Regions from separate parts of the Homo sapiens genome. Here all the other regions are linked to region 2. Evidence: promoter capture Hi-C in 16 types of primary human blood cells and fetal thymus (Javierre and others, 2016). All regions are on one chromosome and are shown on one strand. The core of a region is centred on a gene start or on the middle of the fragment in contact, and the rest is flanking DNA. Distances in the headings are between cores, read along the strand shown. Region 1 has its middle 26 kb from the start of YTHDC1. Region 2 holds the start of UBA6 (ubiquitin like modifier activating enzyme 6). Region 3 holds the start of TMPRSS11E (transmembrane serine protease 11E).

Region 1 (5,026 bases), core at 903-3,402, 670 kb after region 2:
TAAAATTCCCTAAACAATATGAATACTTTTCAAATTTTTGATAATGATTGCAAAATTGCTCTCTTGAAAAGTTATGCCAGTTTATACTCCTTCCAGCAATCTTTGTTCCATATTGTCAGTCATGATTAATACATTTGTCAATGCTTTTGAAAAGGAAAGTGACATATTATTTAAAAACTATGAATTTCTTTGGCTAGTTTGAAGATTTTAATTCTCACCACAAGTGAATTACGATTAGATTTTTTTTTTTTTTTTTGAGATGGAGTCTCACTCTATCACCCAGGCTGGAGTGCAGTGGCCAATCTCTGCTCACCAGCAACCTCCGCCTCCCGGGTTCAAGAGATTCTCGTGCCTCAGCCTCCAGAGTAGCTGGGATTTGAGGCATACGCCACCACACTAGGCTAATTTTTGTATTTTTAGTAGAGATGGGGTTTTTGTCCTATTGGCCAGGCTGGTCTCGAACTCCCGACCTCAGGTGATTCTCTGGCCTCGGCCTCCCAAATTGCTGGGATTATAGGGGTTAGCCCTCGCGCACGGCCGCAATTAAGTCTTTAGACGATCTGTTTCCCCAGTATTTCCCAGCAATGTATTTATGAATCATCTCGCATCTCGCATGGTGAGAAACTTAACATGAACGTTCAACCATGTAAAATTATTACCAGTGAAATAAATAACTTAATGTCTAGTGACCTCTTACTGTAGCTCTGTATTGGTAGATAGACACTTCTTTTTTGATCTTTCAAGTATATAGTAAAAAAAATGTTCCTTTTACAGTTTTCAATTTTTTTTTTTTTTTTTTTTTTTGAGATGGAGTCTCGATCTGTCTCCCAGGCTGGAGCGCAGTGGCCTGATCTCGGCTCACTGCAACATCCGCCTCCCCGGTTGAAGCGATTCTCCTGCCTCGGCTTCCCAAGGAGCTGGGATTACAGGCATGCATCACCACGCCTGGCTAATTTTTGTATTTTCTTTAAATTAGAGACAGGGTTTCACCATGTTGGCCAGGCTATTCTCGAACTCCTGACCTCAAGTGATCTGCCCGCCTCAGACTCCCAGAGTGCTGGGATTACAGGTGTGAGCCACCGCGCCTGGCTAATTTTTCATGTTTTTAGTAGAGACGGGGTTTCTCCATGTTGGCCAAGCTGGTCTCAAACTACTGACCTCAAGTGATCCACCCGCCTTGGCCTCCCAAAGTGCTGGGATTACAGGCGTAAGCCATCGCGCCCTGCCTTGTTTTCAAAATTAAACTTAGTTGAAGCCTGTAAGACTTAAAATGAAAGCAAGATTATGTGACTTGATTATGATGCAGCCAAATGAATTTAGATGCAAATGCTAGACTTGAAATGTAAGTGTACGAATATACAGCAGTATAATTTTATGAGGTCTGGGGGTTACTTGTGCATGAGCCCAGGATTTAGATATCTGGCTACTCACAGTAAGATCCATGGAAGGAAATAAATTCTATAAGGAAGCACTGTATAACTCAAAGAAACTAGAGAGGCCCAAATGTCCAAAGCTGCCATTTCGCTTGCTGGAATTTGCTGGTGGAATAACTACCCTTCCCCGAATTAATGAGGCTAAATGAATTCCTGGGGAACCCTCAGGCTGTCAGTGTAACACCTCCCACATCTTTTTTCTCCAGCAGGTGGCATGTACAGCACCATCCTGAAATGGTGATAACTTTATTATTATTATTGTCACTATTCATGGGGCTAACCATCTTCCCTTTTCTTCCCAAATAAGTACATGGAGTTTTAGCATAGGTATTAAAGAAGGCTCGTCAGCATGATGGCTTAAGTCTGTAATCCCAGCTACTGGGGAGGCTGAGGTGGGAACCGAGGAGTTCAAGGCTACAGTGAGCTATGATCATGCCACTGCACTATAGCCTGAGTGACAGAAGGAGACCCCGTCTGTAAAAACAATTTAAAGAGAGAAAGAGAAAGATAGAGAGAGAGAGAATTCTTGTTTCAATGACCTAGAGGAAAAAAGATGTTATAAGTTCGCTTTTGAAACTGGAACATTAATTTTTCACCATATTAAGACAAGACCCTGTATATACACGTTAAACTTAAACAGCTATCTTTTAGGCTGTTGAATGCAAGAAGGTAAGTTTAAGTACCATCTAGTGGTAGGCATCACCCTCCACCTAGTGGCATCCCTCTCCATCTAGTGGCAAGATAGGCGAATTGAAAGCAAGTGCCAAAGAAGAAATAGTCTGATACTGAAATGTTGAACAAAAGTTTAAAAAGACAACAGTATTGACCACGCCTCCTCCAAGTCCCAGCGAGCCCGTGTACAACCTGTCCCGACTCCAGCCGCCTCTTCAGCTCGCCATGGATCCCAACTGCTCCTGTGCCGCCAGTGACTCCTGCACCTGCGCCGGCTCCTGCAAGTGCAAAGAGTGCAAATGCACCTCCTGCAAGAAAAGCTGCTGCTCCTGCTGTCCTGTGGGCTGTGCCAAGTGTGCCCAGGGCTGCATCTGCAAAGGGGCGTCGGACAAGTGCAGCTGCTGTGCCTGATGCTGGGACAGCCCTGCCCCCAGATGTAAATAACGCGACCTCTACAAACCTGGATTTTTTATGTACAACCCTGACCCTGACGTTTGCTACATTCCTTTTTCTATGAAATAATGTGAATGATAATAAAACAGCTTTGACTTGAAAAAAAAAAAAAAAAGAGAATAGTATTAAAGTACCAGATAAACTTTACCACTGTTTTATTAAATTTTAATATAAATAAACTATGTAAAATAATTCATGATTGTAGCAGGTTATCTAATTTGGAAATAAAAAGAATACTCTTGCTGGATGGTAAACAGACTATTCCTAGCATGAGGTCTTTTCTTGGAATTATTTTATCTTAGTCCTTACCTAGAAGGACTTAGGAAGTGACAAACAGTGCTAAAAACCTGAGAGAAAAGTTAAGACATAGTGACAGAATTTTGCAGGACAAAAGAGTGATATTAGTACAGTCTTTCTTATGTTAAACCTTTTATGATCTTGAAAATCTTATCTTTAAATCTTAAGAAGCTGTTGGATTATACTTTAATCATTGCAGGGAAAAGATTTAGAAATTATGTTGTCAACCAGTTTAGATCAAATTGACATCAGAATTGGGTCTTTAGGAGGAGATTTTTGGTACAATAACTTTGTAATCTGAGGATACTAATCAGGGTATAATAGTACACTTAATTAGTATGATTAGCTGATAGTCTCAAGTTAGGACGACAGTCATTGAGCCCATATCAGGTAGTTAACAGTGAGCATCTATCTGTTCTAATATGTTCAGCATTCTGTTAGGATTAGTTGGTGTCCATGCTGTCCTTGTTATTAAATCATCTGAATATCATCCAAGACCATAAGGGACTGTATGTTCACAGGAAAAAAATAACAAAATCACAAAATGTGAAGAATGTATGTATTATGAAAAGAAGGTAGGCAAACAGATATCTTTAAAAGAGGAAGCTAAAAAAATAAAAATAAAAGAGGAAGCCAAATGAATGGATCAGATAGAAAAAAATGTTCAAAAGTGTAATAATTGTTTTAAAAGGACTAAAAATATTTTTAGAGACCCAAAGGAGGAAATTAGAAACATGAATCAGAAAAATCAGTTATGAAGGACCAACTGGAGATATTCAGTATGAAAAACCTAATAACTGAAATAACTCAGTAAGTATGGTATTAGATAAACCTTATAGATGTTTTTTAGATACTGCTTTTCAGAGTGAACACACTTGAAATACAAATTAGTGAGCTGAAAGATCAGGTCAATCAACTCTTCTAGAAGGACTCAGGAAGGACAAAGCAGTGCTAAAAAACTGAGAGAAAAGGTAAGATACAGTGACAGAATTTTGCAGGACGAAAGAGTGATATTAGTACAGTCTTTCTTCAGTATCTTCAAGGATTGGTTCAAGGACCCACTGCCTTCATAGTAAAATCCAGGAATGCTCAATTCCCTTATATAAAATGGCCTGTTTGCTCATAATCTACATACATCCTCCTGTATACATTCAATTATCTCTATATTACATATGATACCTAATACAATAGGAATGCTATGTAAATAGTTGTTATGCTGCTTTGGTTTTTATTTGTATTTTTTTAATTGTTAATTTGGTTTTTTCTTGAATATTTTCGGTCCCAGGTTGTTTGAATCTGTAAATGCAGAACCTGAAGATACATAGGGCTGAGTGTATTTGATAGAAAGAGGACAGAGAAATTGTTGAAATAAGAGAAATTTGAAGCTAGGATGCTATATCCAATTAATTCAATGTAAGGCTGAAATAAGTTATTGTAAGGTACACAAGGCCTCAGAAGGCTGACAAAAATTCTGTTTGAAAACACTTTGGGAGGATGTGCTCAAGTAAGACAAGGAATCAATCCAGAAGTTAACCAAGAGATGTGAAAAGTGTGGAACAAGTGAAGCTTTGTAACGTGTTTAGATGAAAAACTGCCAGAGGCATCTTTAATATAAACAGCTTCAGGAAGAGAGACACACTGTATTGCTTTCTTTATCCCAGAGATTTTGGAGCGTATACATAGGTGTCATGCATGTCGTATGTATATGTGCGTATTTGTTGGAGGAACAAAGCCCAACCCCCACCCCCGACAAAATCCCATGAGTTTATTTACACATTGTACATGAGAATTTGCGCTATTTCCTATCTTCAGACGTGATATTTAAAATATATAACAATTAGTACAACATAGGGCACTGACCAATCAGAACAGACACCAGCCAAACTGCTAGAGCAGCTTCCTGGATGCTGTGCCCTTCATGTCCGGATTATGAGTACACCTCTGGTGGGCTGGGGCAGAGGCATGGGGCAGGGTCTCAAAGTGGCTTCTATTTACCATGTATATAGGATTGTTTCAATATTTTAACAACTTGTATGGTCATGTATACTGACTGAATAGCAACTCTGCTATGAGACATAAGACATGTTTGATGACTTCATGCAATTTTCTGAAACATGCTCTTTTTTTTTTTAAAATAAACCTTGGGCAGATGTTATGTTAAGACAGTCTCT
Region 2 (5,002 bases), core at 959-3,458:
CAAGACTCTGTCAAAAAACAAACAAACAAAACAAAACAAAAAAACCCTGTTAAATGAATAAATTTTAAAGGAAAAAAACTAATCTAAATATGCAAATCTGACAAAGTATACTTATTATAGTAACATATTATTTATAGCAGTGCTCGTCCCATTTTCACAGCATGGCCTTCAAAAAACGTATCTGTACTAAACACTGGCAAGCAGAGATAATTCCCAGGTACAGGGAACCAGTCTGGAGCATTTGGAGCTGAACCACTGTGAGAGCTGAGATCAATATACTGGCAGAAGTGGAGGCCATTCCTAGTTCTGAGAAGCTCTAGTTGTCAATTAAAAGATTCTAAAAACAATGCGATGGCATCAAATTCAGGCTTGGAATCCAACTTTCTAGTCCTAGCATTGATAAATAAGCCAAAGAATTTGTAAACAAAGGTAATTAAAATGTTATCATTTATCTCACCAAACACTGGCACATATCAAATGATACCAGCTTCTAGCTAATTAAACGGATAGCTATTAAAAAAACTGATTCCAATTACCAAGGCAAATCAGAAGATAGCTGTGTTCTAAGAGATCACCTACCTAATAAAAAACACACACATACACAATATACCCTGTTTGGGCATTGTAACAAAATATAAAAATTAACAAAATTTGTTTCTTTTCTTTTTTTTTGAGACAGGGTCTCTCTCTGTCACCCAGACTGGAGTGCAGTGGCACGATCTCGGCTCACTGCAGCCTCGATCTCTCTAGACTCAAGCGATCCTCTCATCTTAGCCTCCCGAGTAGCTGGGACTACAGGCGTGCATCACCTACGCCCAGCTAATTTTTTTGTATTTTGTAGAGACGCGGTTTCGCCATGTTGCCCAGGCTAGTCTAAGAACTCCTGAGCTCAAGCGACCCGCCTGCTTCGACCTCCCAAAGCGCTGGGATTGCAAGCGTTTGAGCCACTGCGCCCGGCCAAAGTTTTTTATTATCTACTTTCCTATCATTTTATCCCTAGTACACTTTCACTTGCTGTTTTCCTTGCATGGCGGGGGCAATAGGCCTGGTGGGTAAATCTGAATAAAAACGAGAACAGCTGCAGTCTAACTAGCTCTGCCACTTAATGGCGTGACTGGCCCTTTTCAGAAAGTTGTGCCTCACTGGAATGTTTCAAAAATATGTAAAAATAATATGATCTATAAGACAATCAAAAACGCTTCAAATAAGGCGCGGGTTATATTACATAATATCCCTCCACTCTGGCAGTGTTGGCAATGGCAGACAACACCATGAAACTGAAAGCATCCCTTCAGTCTGAAACTGGCGAAAAGGCTACAGGTTTACAAAGTCTCACATCAGCTGAAAATAATACATCCATCAATTCTATCTTTGGCATGGTGTATTCTGACAGTGGTGGATAGAATGTAACCACTTGCTTTATTAATTATGAGATGATTGAAAGAGGAACTACTAACCAAGAAATTGGTAAAGGCCTAGCACAAATATTTTCCCCCTAATTTTACAGGGGCGGGAAAGACCTGAAGAACTTCAAAACCAAGTGGGAAATAAGAATGGGTAACTTGTGTATTTTTTTTTCCTGGCTTTTTTTTTTTCCTTCTTCCGAAGTCAACAAAGGCCTCAGGGTGTCCAGATTGCTACTGATTCATTCTTACCAAGTTCCTTCTGGTAATAGTTTTCAAAAGAGGATCTCAGTGGAGGTGCACAGTGGCGCTCCTAGCTTTCTTTTTACGGAAAGGAGGAAAGGTGCTTGGCACCAGTCGGGGAAGCTCACGCCAAGTGACCGAGACCAGAACTCGCTCTCGACCGGAGCCCCCCAAGTCTGGTGACTTGGAGGAAGGAGGATCCCGAATCCCAGCCAGAACTGAGAAAGCCCTCAAAGGTGCGGAAAGGGGACTTTTCCCTCAGGAAAGCCGGCAACAGCAGAGGCCCTAGCCCACGTCGCCACACCCACTCCGCGCGCGCCCCTCGCCTCCCAGGGCCGGCTCTGCTCGGCCCCGCGGCCTCTCGGGCGCCCCCAGCCCGCCGGAAAGAAAGAAGCAGAAACCCGGAGCCTGGGTCCCACCCGCGACCCCTCACCTTCGCCCTTCTCGTCCTCTCACCTGCCAGTCCCCCAGGAAGAACAGGACGCCTCTTCCCCCTGATGGGCGGCCACAGGCTCGGATCCTTCCATTGCCGCCTGAGACACCGCCGCCGGCTACTGGAAGGTAGGAAGGGGCGGGACCGTGGGGGGGTCAAGGGGCGGGCGGAGACGTCATCAGAGGGGGCGGGCCTGGGGAAGCTAGGAGCCCGGCAGCGCCTTCCCGTCAACCCTAGGGGCGTCCTGGTTTCCGGTTTGGGTGTGGCCGCATGGCGTGCTGTGGTGCAGGTGGCCGAAGGGGGCGTTACTGTTGCGACTGGCATCCGCATCCGGCAGATGTAGATGGAACCAAAGTCCAGAAGTTACGCGTCACCCTTGCTCTACAGCCAAACATGCAGGACTCTAGTAACCCGCGAAATGATGGGATAGCGTTGCAAATCCTTAAAAGAGTCTTAACGGTAAGAAGAGGAAACAGCTTTATTTTATAAATAAACTGAAGGCTGCTAATAGCTCCAGATTGTCAGTGAGGGGATACCACTTAAAGATGTTATACATTTAATAAATAATTTTGGGAGTCCACTACATGTGAGGCGCTGCCTCAGATTTAATAGAATCATGTGACTTTTAGTGCCATAGATGTCGTTAGATCATCCAGTTTGGTCCCTTAAATTTGTGGGTAAGGGAAAGGAACTTCCGGTCAGTGCAAGTGACTTGGTCAAGGTTATAGAGCTAGTCACTGTTAGATTACCAGAACACATATCTAAAAAGTTCTCATATAATTCTTTTTCATTTACTTCCGTGTCACCTTTCTTAGAAAGCAAAAATGAGTTGGACACAATAACATTAGGATTTGTCTTTCACTAAATAACACTGTATATTTGAATAAACATCTGCAGGATTTTTAAAATTAGCATATACTTTGGGTATTATGTAATTTTCTGTGATGTATCATATTTTTAATTAGAAATTTTTCCTCTCATATGGAGATGAGGGTCCAGGCAAAACTGTATTATCCTTCGTGCCCTCTATTCTCTTCAAAATTGCACATCTTAAAATACCTGGAAGCTTTATGTTGCTCACCTATAGCATTATCCGTGTTCCTCAATCCAGTTGTGAACCTTTTCCACATTAAAATGTTCTTGATCTGTGTTCTATTCTTTCAAGGCTCTGCTCTAGCACTAAGATAATGCTACAGGACTGAAGATAATGAAAAAGATTGAAGAAAGCAGAAACAGAACAAAAATCAGATTATTTCAAAGTTTCTTTCCTTGTAAAGGTTAAAACAGAGCATACTTCCTTATTATGCCCACTAGGTTAACTAGAATCTCCTGTTTTTTTAAAAAAAACTGGCTCATTTTTTCAAAATCCACTTTAATTACATGGTGCTTAGCACAAGCAACTCCATTCTGGTTTGATCTGATGGGGCCTAGTGTAGAAGGCTAGGCCAAAACAATGGCCTGCCATTACCCACGCTTCTTCATATTTTAACATCCATGAATAGAGGATGAATTTTTAAAAAATAAATACAGAAAACGATGCATCTTAAAATTGAGGGCATGTTAGATTTGATAAAATATGGTGTGAATTATTTCAGGCATGTAACAAGCAACCAGATTTAACAGATTTTAATGTTTTGTCACATATGTAAAATGGGAAAGAAAACTAGGCGATCACAGCTTTTTGACAGTGAGGCTTTATGTCATAAGAAAGTAGAATGACATATTGAGGAAACTTAAGGGAAAAATATGTAGGCCAAAGATTTTACATTCAGCAAAACTAATATACAAAAGGTACAAACTGTTATCAACAATTGATATATCAATTTGGTGAGACTAGTGTTTTCATGAGCCCCTCCTTAATAATTAATTGGAGAAAGTGTCTGACAATCAGAATTATTACAGAAACATTGATCTAAGGATTGACTCGGTTTCTTTACAGCAAATCATAATCTGTTGCATTTATTAGCTTTTGTGTTTCTTGTAGTTTATTCTTTATTACTAATTCTCCTGAGTTCTGTCACCTCATTTCTGAGGTTTTTCTAATTCAGAATCAAGTTCTTCCATATCTTTTATCATTTCTCTAATGTCATTTAGCTAGTTTCAAAATAATAAATTGTTTTGTAGTGCATCTTTCAGGCATGTTTTTATTATCTTTGATGATGATGTTATATTCCTTATTCTCTTCACATAATAACTGCATGGATTTGAACTTGATGCTTTTTTTGTTGCTCTTTTTTTTTTTTTTTTTTTTTTTTTTTTGAGACAGAGCCTTGCTCTGTTGCCCAGGTTGGAGTGCAGTGGCGGGATCTTGGCTCACTGCAAGTTCTGCCTCCCGGATTCACGCCATTCTCCTGCCTCAGCCTCCCGAGTAGCTGGAACTACAGGCACCTGCCACCACGCCCGGCTAATTTTTTGTATTTTTAGTAGAGACGGGGTTTCACCGTGTTAGCCAGGATGGTCTCGATCTCCTGACCTCGTGATCCACCCCTTGGCCTCCCAAAGTGCTGGGATTACAGGCGTGAGTTATTGCTCATTTTTATGTGAAATTGGTGTTCCTGAACTAATATGAGACAGGCTTCTTAGCCCAATAAGCCTAAGTTTATCAGGAACAAAACTGTATTCCAAGAAAGTCAGGTATATTAGTCTGTTTTCACACTGCTATAAAGAAATACCCGAGACTGGGTAATTTATAAAGGAAAGAGATTTAGTTGACTCACAGTTCCACATGGCTGGGGAGTCCTCAGGAAACTTAAATCATAGCAGAAGGTGAAGGAGAAGCAAGACATATCTTACACGGTGGCAGGAGAGAAGTGAGATCGTGGGAAAACTGCCACTTTTAAAACCATCAGATCTCATGAGAACTCCCTCATTATCACAAGAATAGCATGGGGGAACTGCCCCCATAATCTAATCACCTCCCACC
Region 3 (4,445 bases), core at 1,286-3,785, 750 kb after region 2:
TTTAACAATATTGGCCAGTCTGTAATGTACATCCCAATAAACTGACCAATAAAAGGATTGCCTTAGCATTATGGAAATATAGCTAAAGTATAAGTTTAAGGGCTTCCATAAATTAATCAGATTATTATTATACATAGGCATTTATGTATTATCAGGTATAAAAGACATTTGTTCAAACTAGGAGATATTCAAATAATGATAAAAATCATCTATGACTAGCCACCTGGGAACTATACTTTTCTAGTTTAAAGCCATAAGATGCCTCATTGCTTTGACATTGCTAAGTATAAAAAGGACTGTAGAATAATTTGTTGGTGATAAAAATGTCTGTGGTCACATTGCTATTTTACTTATTATGCAATGTAAGATATCTACTGTGGATTTCTAACAGACTCAAGTCCACAAATATATTTCTCCTGACTGTTCCTGACATTGCACAGAATGGCACAGGGAACACAGACCAACACACAAAAAGAAGAGTAACTCTTTGAAAACATTTTCTTCACACTGTAGTTTAGGACAAAAGTATTGCAGAATAAAATTTATGGTTTTAGAAAAAACAGCAACAAAAATTTGAATGAAAGACAAACTTTTGCTTTTTCGAACTTTTGGAAGACAAAATTATGACTCTAATGTTTCATTCCTTCTTCTTTCCTTGCCATTCAAATTTCTACTAAAGTGTAAGATATATCATAAAATTTGATAATATACACTGCAATGCCCATTGAGCAGACTGAACAAAGGCCATTAATATAGCAAGGAAGACATATTTTTAATATCTTTAGTCTGACATTCACTTGTCCTTTATTTACATATGCGTAATCTCTTAATTTTCTACAAATTGTAGCTTATACTCACAGAGTTTTAAAAAAATTCATGATAGCCCTCTCATTTTCTGTATCTACAATTCTAGGTTATATATTACCCTAAGTATACAGGTCCATAGGCCTATATAAAGAATTTATTTGAATTTGAAATCTTGATTTTGTGAAAGAAACAAATGTCTTGAGATTTTGTTAAAATAAGTCTGGCAAGTCTTGGCCCAAAGTTACACTGAGAGGGAATCTGTTTTCCTTTGAAAACAAAAGTATTATCAATATTTTCATAAAATGTGAGTATAAAATAGAACATAGTATTATTAAACCATATTAACATTTCATTGGCAGAGATTTCACTTTGTTAAAGGCTGTATAAGAACAGCTTAATCTCATAACCCAGAAGTTTTTACTGTTATTATTGCCTCTTTATTTTTGGCTAAAGTGTAATTTTTAAATGAGTATACAGAAACCTAATACTATATATTGAATGACTTTAAGTAAATAAATATCCATGCTATTCATCAGGATAAGTGACCTAGTGACCAGAATAAAAAGGATATATGTTGGTAGCCCCTAGCACAGTATGCCTCAGCACAGAGGTTTCTTGGGTTACTGCTAGTGAATGATTCCAATTCTTGGCCGTCTGATCCCACACATTACATAAATTCCAACTCCTGCATCTGTTTAGGTGAGCTGTTGGCTAAATGGATATGTAATGAAATTAAACAATATTTTTAAGGTGCTTTTTAGGATGGGTTATACCCCCTCTTTTTCTCCTCCTTTCCTTGCAACCTGCCCTCTACTCATTCTTTTTATGCATATTTTTGAGAGCCTGAATATGCTAGGAAGAGGGTTTCAGTCTGTTAAGAATTCACAACCTTGTGGAGTTGAGATACAATTAATAAAATTTCTAGTATAATGAGGTAAGTATTATGATACCATGAAAGCACAGAGGAGAAACACCTACTCTGTTTTGTAAGGATTAGGGAAAGCAATTTAGAGATTATACCTAACACAAACACACAGATATTTGCATAGTATGTGAGCACACGTTTAAAAAAATGTAATTTTCACCCTAGAAATAAGACAGTAGTGATTCAGCGTGAGTTGATATGCCTGTCTCCACTATAATGAAAGAAATATAACGTCTTAAGTATGGGTTGACATTTGCAAACTAACTGATTTTTCTAGAAGAATGATGCCACATAATTTAAAAATATTAATGCTTTTCTAATCTCTAGTGTATTTTCAATGGCTAACATAGTTAAAACCAAAGTGAAATTTTTATTATGTACATAATCGAATGCAAATTGTGTCAGGCTAGTTTAAAAAATATGAATGTCAGTCCTGGCTTGGCAATTTAATAACTATTTGGTTTTTGACCAAGTCATTTAACTTAATTAAACCTCAGTTTCTTCTCTGTAAACAAGAGAAGGTCAAGCAAGATAGTTTTAAAATTTCTTTCCAAATTTATACGTCTGACTTTTCTAAAAAATCTGGTTTACACTAATACTTAAAAGAAATTATCTTAAAACAATAAATTATAAATTTATTTTTTGCTCTTGCTCCCTGTAAAATTTGTCCTTGTCCTGCTAGTCACATATAGTCCCCACTACACCAGCCAAGACTTGTCAGACTGGTTCTGTTGAGATCATCAGTGACTTATTTCCTCACTTCAATTCAGCCCACAAAGTCATTGATAGAGCTGGATTCACACACTTGGATGTAGACCTCGACCTTCACAGGACTCTTCATTGCTGGTTGGCAATGATGTATCGGTGAGTTAGTTCCCTTTTTCTTTCTAGAAGTCTTAAGGTAACTTTTAGTTTAAAACAGTATGAGCCACACCAAGGAATGTGTAGATCTACAGTTTATTATTTTTTTAAATATAGAAACATATTTTTGAGATTTTACATAAAATTATGTCAAGAAAAAGATTTCTATTCTTTCTGTATTAGTGTTTCCTGTCCTCTTTTGTTGTATCCCATGTGTTTTTCTGTTTACTTTTAGAAGGTTTCTACACAATGTAAAGGTACATGGTGTTTGACAGCTGTCTTTTAGTTAGTTTGGCCATATGTTTCAAGAAAGATATAACATATTTTTAGCTTGGGCTTTGTTTGTCTTATTGAGAAACACTTTTATTTTAGAAGGTGTACATGAAAAAAAGTCTGAAATAATGCAGAAAAAAATGTTTATTTCTGTAAGTAGTTAAAAATTTAAAAACTCTAGATGTTTTGAAAGAATCAGAAACAACTGAAGAAAATAATATGACTAAATTATTATAGCCTGATTTAAAAAATAAATCCACTGATATGCCTGGCCATAGTCAACTTCTCCAAAGATAAGTCATGATCATTTTGAGGTTTTCTTTCAAAGTTAGAAACTAATCAGTAACAAGGTTTTGGGGTACTAGTTTTGTCTTTGAAAATAATTTTATCTCCTGATTAAAATTTATTTTCTCTGATTCTCATATTGGCATATCATTTTTTATTAGTTTTTACTTTGAGAACAGTTTGAAAATGTTAAACTTTGAATGAAATCTGTGGTCTTCATTTAACATGGAAAAACAGGTTCTGTCATCAGTTGAAAGTTCTACATACTTGTTATTAGAAGTTTAATACTCTTCTGTACATATCCATGAAGCAACTAAAAGCTACGGATACTAAACATTTTGTTGGGCTTATCAAGGCTCCCTGCCTTTTGCAAGTATTTCTTTACAACCAATGATGGTTTTGTATCCTATTCTCTTTTTCTCATTGACTTTACTATAGAAAACAGTGCTTCAAGAAAGCTTCCAATAAACTTAACATACTAAATAGATTACAAGCCTTATCTATGGTATATGTCAGAGATTTGGAATTTGGTTATAAATGTGTAGAGGCGGTATAATGTGGGAATACTGGAGTGAATTTTTCTGAGTGTAGTCTCTAATTTGAAGCAAAAGATGTGACTATTTTTAAAAATCCTGCTGCAGAATAGATGCAAATAATCTCTCATGGAAAAAACCAAAAACCAAAACCAACCATCTAACAAACAAAAACGTCTTCCTGATCTGAAGATTGTATGAAAGATGAAGCACATCTATGTTTGAGTGGGTCTAGATGAGATAAAATGTTAAGAGCATGTACTAGAGCAAAAAAGGATTAAGTTTATTATTCACATTTGCTGTCGTAAATGTGCCAACAGGAGTGTTATCGAGGAAGAGGGATAATTGAAATCCTAGGATATAAGTAGACAATTTCTTCTTAAGGTCATTGGTTTTAACTCAGAAAGAATACAAGAAACAGGTGGGGAATTTTATTAAATAGCATGCTCCTTCCTTTTCAGTCAGATTTCGGATAGCCTTCTCCCTGACTCTACCTGAATAAGAATCAGTTTTTTTTTTTTTTTTTTAGAATTTAAGGGTAGGAAAAAATTTAAACTGGGTAAGCATTATTCTTCTTGTACTGCCATTTTCTCCAAACTCTTATTTTGGACTATTCTTTGAGCATGAAGAGATCAACACATGAATTTTATAAACACACAACAGAAAGTTAAAGAAAACTCTATCAGGCATAAGTTTATAGAGAACAGATTTGGGAAGAGAAGAATGTGTCCATTAAATATATTTATTGGTCATAGGGGTGT

The links. The method cuts DNA at HindIII sites, captures the fragments that hold promoters and counts their contacts. A CHiCAGO score of 5 or more calls a contact.
Region 1: a fragment that was not itself captured here is called in contact with the fragment with the promoter of UBA6 in region 2 in 2 of 17 cell types (non-activated CD4 T cells and total CD4 T cells); the score reaches 6.9 in non-activated CD4 T cells.
Region 3: the fragment with the promoter of TMPRSS11E here is called in contact with the fragment with the promoter of UBA6 in region 2 in 6 of 17 cell types (non-activated CD4 T cells, total CD4 T cells, total CD8 T cells and 3 more); the score reaches 12.0 in non-activated CD4 T cells.

Annotation. Positions count from the first base shown.
Region 1 is chr4:68,373,993-68,379,018 of GRCh38, forward strand. It overlaps the pseudogene MT2P1. Among named protein-coding and RNA genes, the nearest start is that of YTHDC1, 26 kb to the left of the region's middle. The HindIII fragment of the contact is 4,533 bases long and covers 1-4,419 here.
Region 2 is chr4:67,698,947-67,703,948 of GRCh38, forward strand. UBA6 (ubiquitin like modifier activating enzyme 6) reads right to left here and starts at 2,209. Exons shown (of 33, transcript NM_018227.6): 1 at 2,103-2,209. The coding sequence starts at 2,173. UBA6-DT (UBA6 divergent transcript) reads left to right here and starts at 2,332. Exons shown (of 2, transcript NR_015439.1): 1 at 2,332-2,538. RefSeq lists silencers at 1,933-2,102, 2,233-2,302. The HindIII fragment of the contact is 4,018 bases long and covers 1-3,143 here.
Region 3 is chr4:68,444,928-68,449,372 of GRCh38, forward strand. TMPRSS11E (transmembrane serine protease 11E) reads left to right here and starts at 2,536. Exons shown (of 10, transcript NM_014058.4): 1 at 2,536-2,596. The coding sequence starts at 2,586. The HindIII fragment of the contact is 3,931 bases long and covers 1-3,607 here.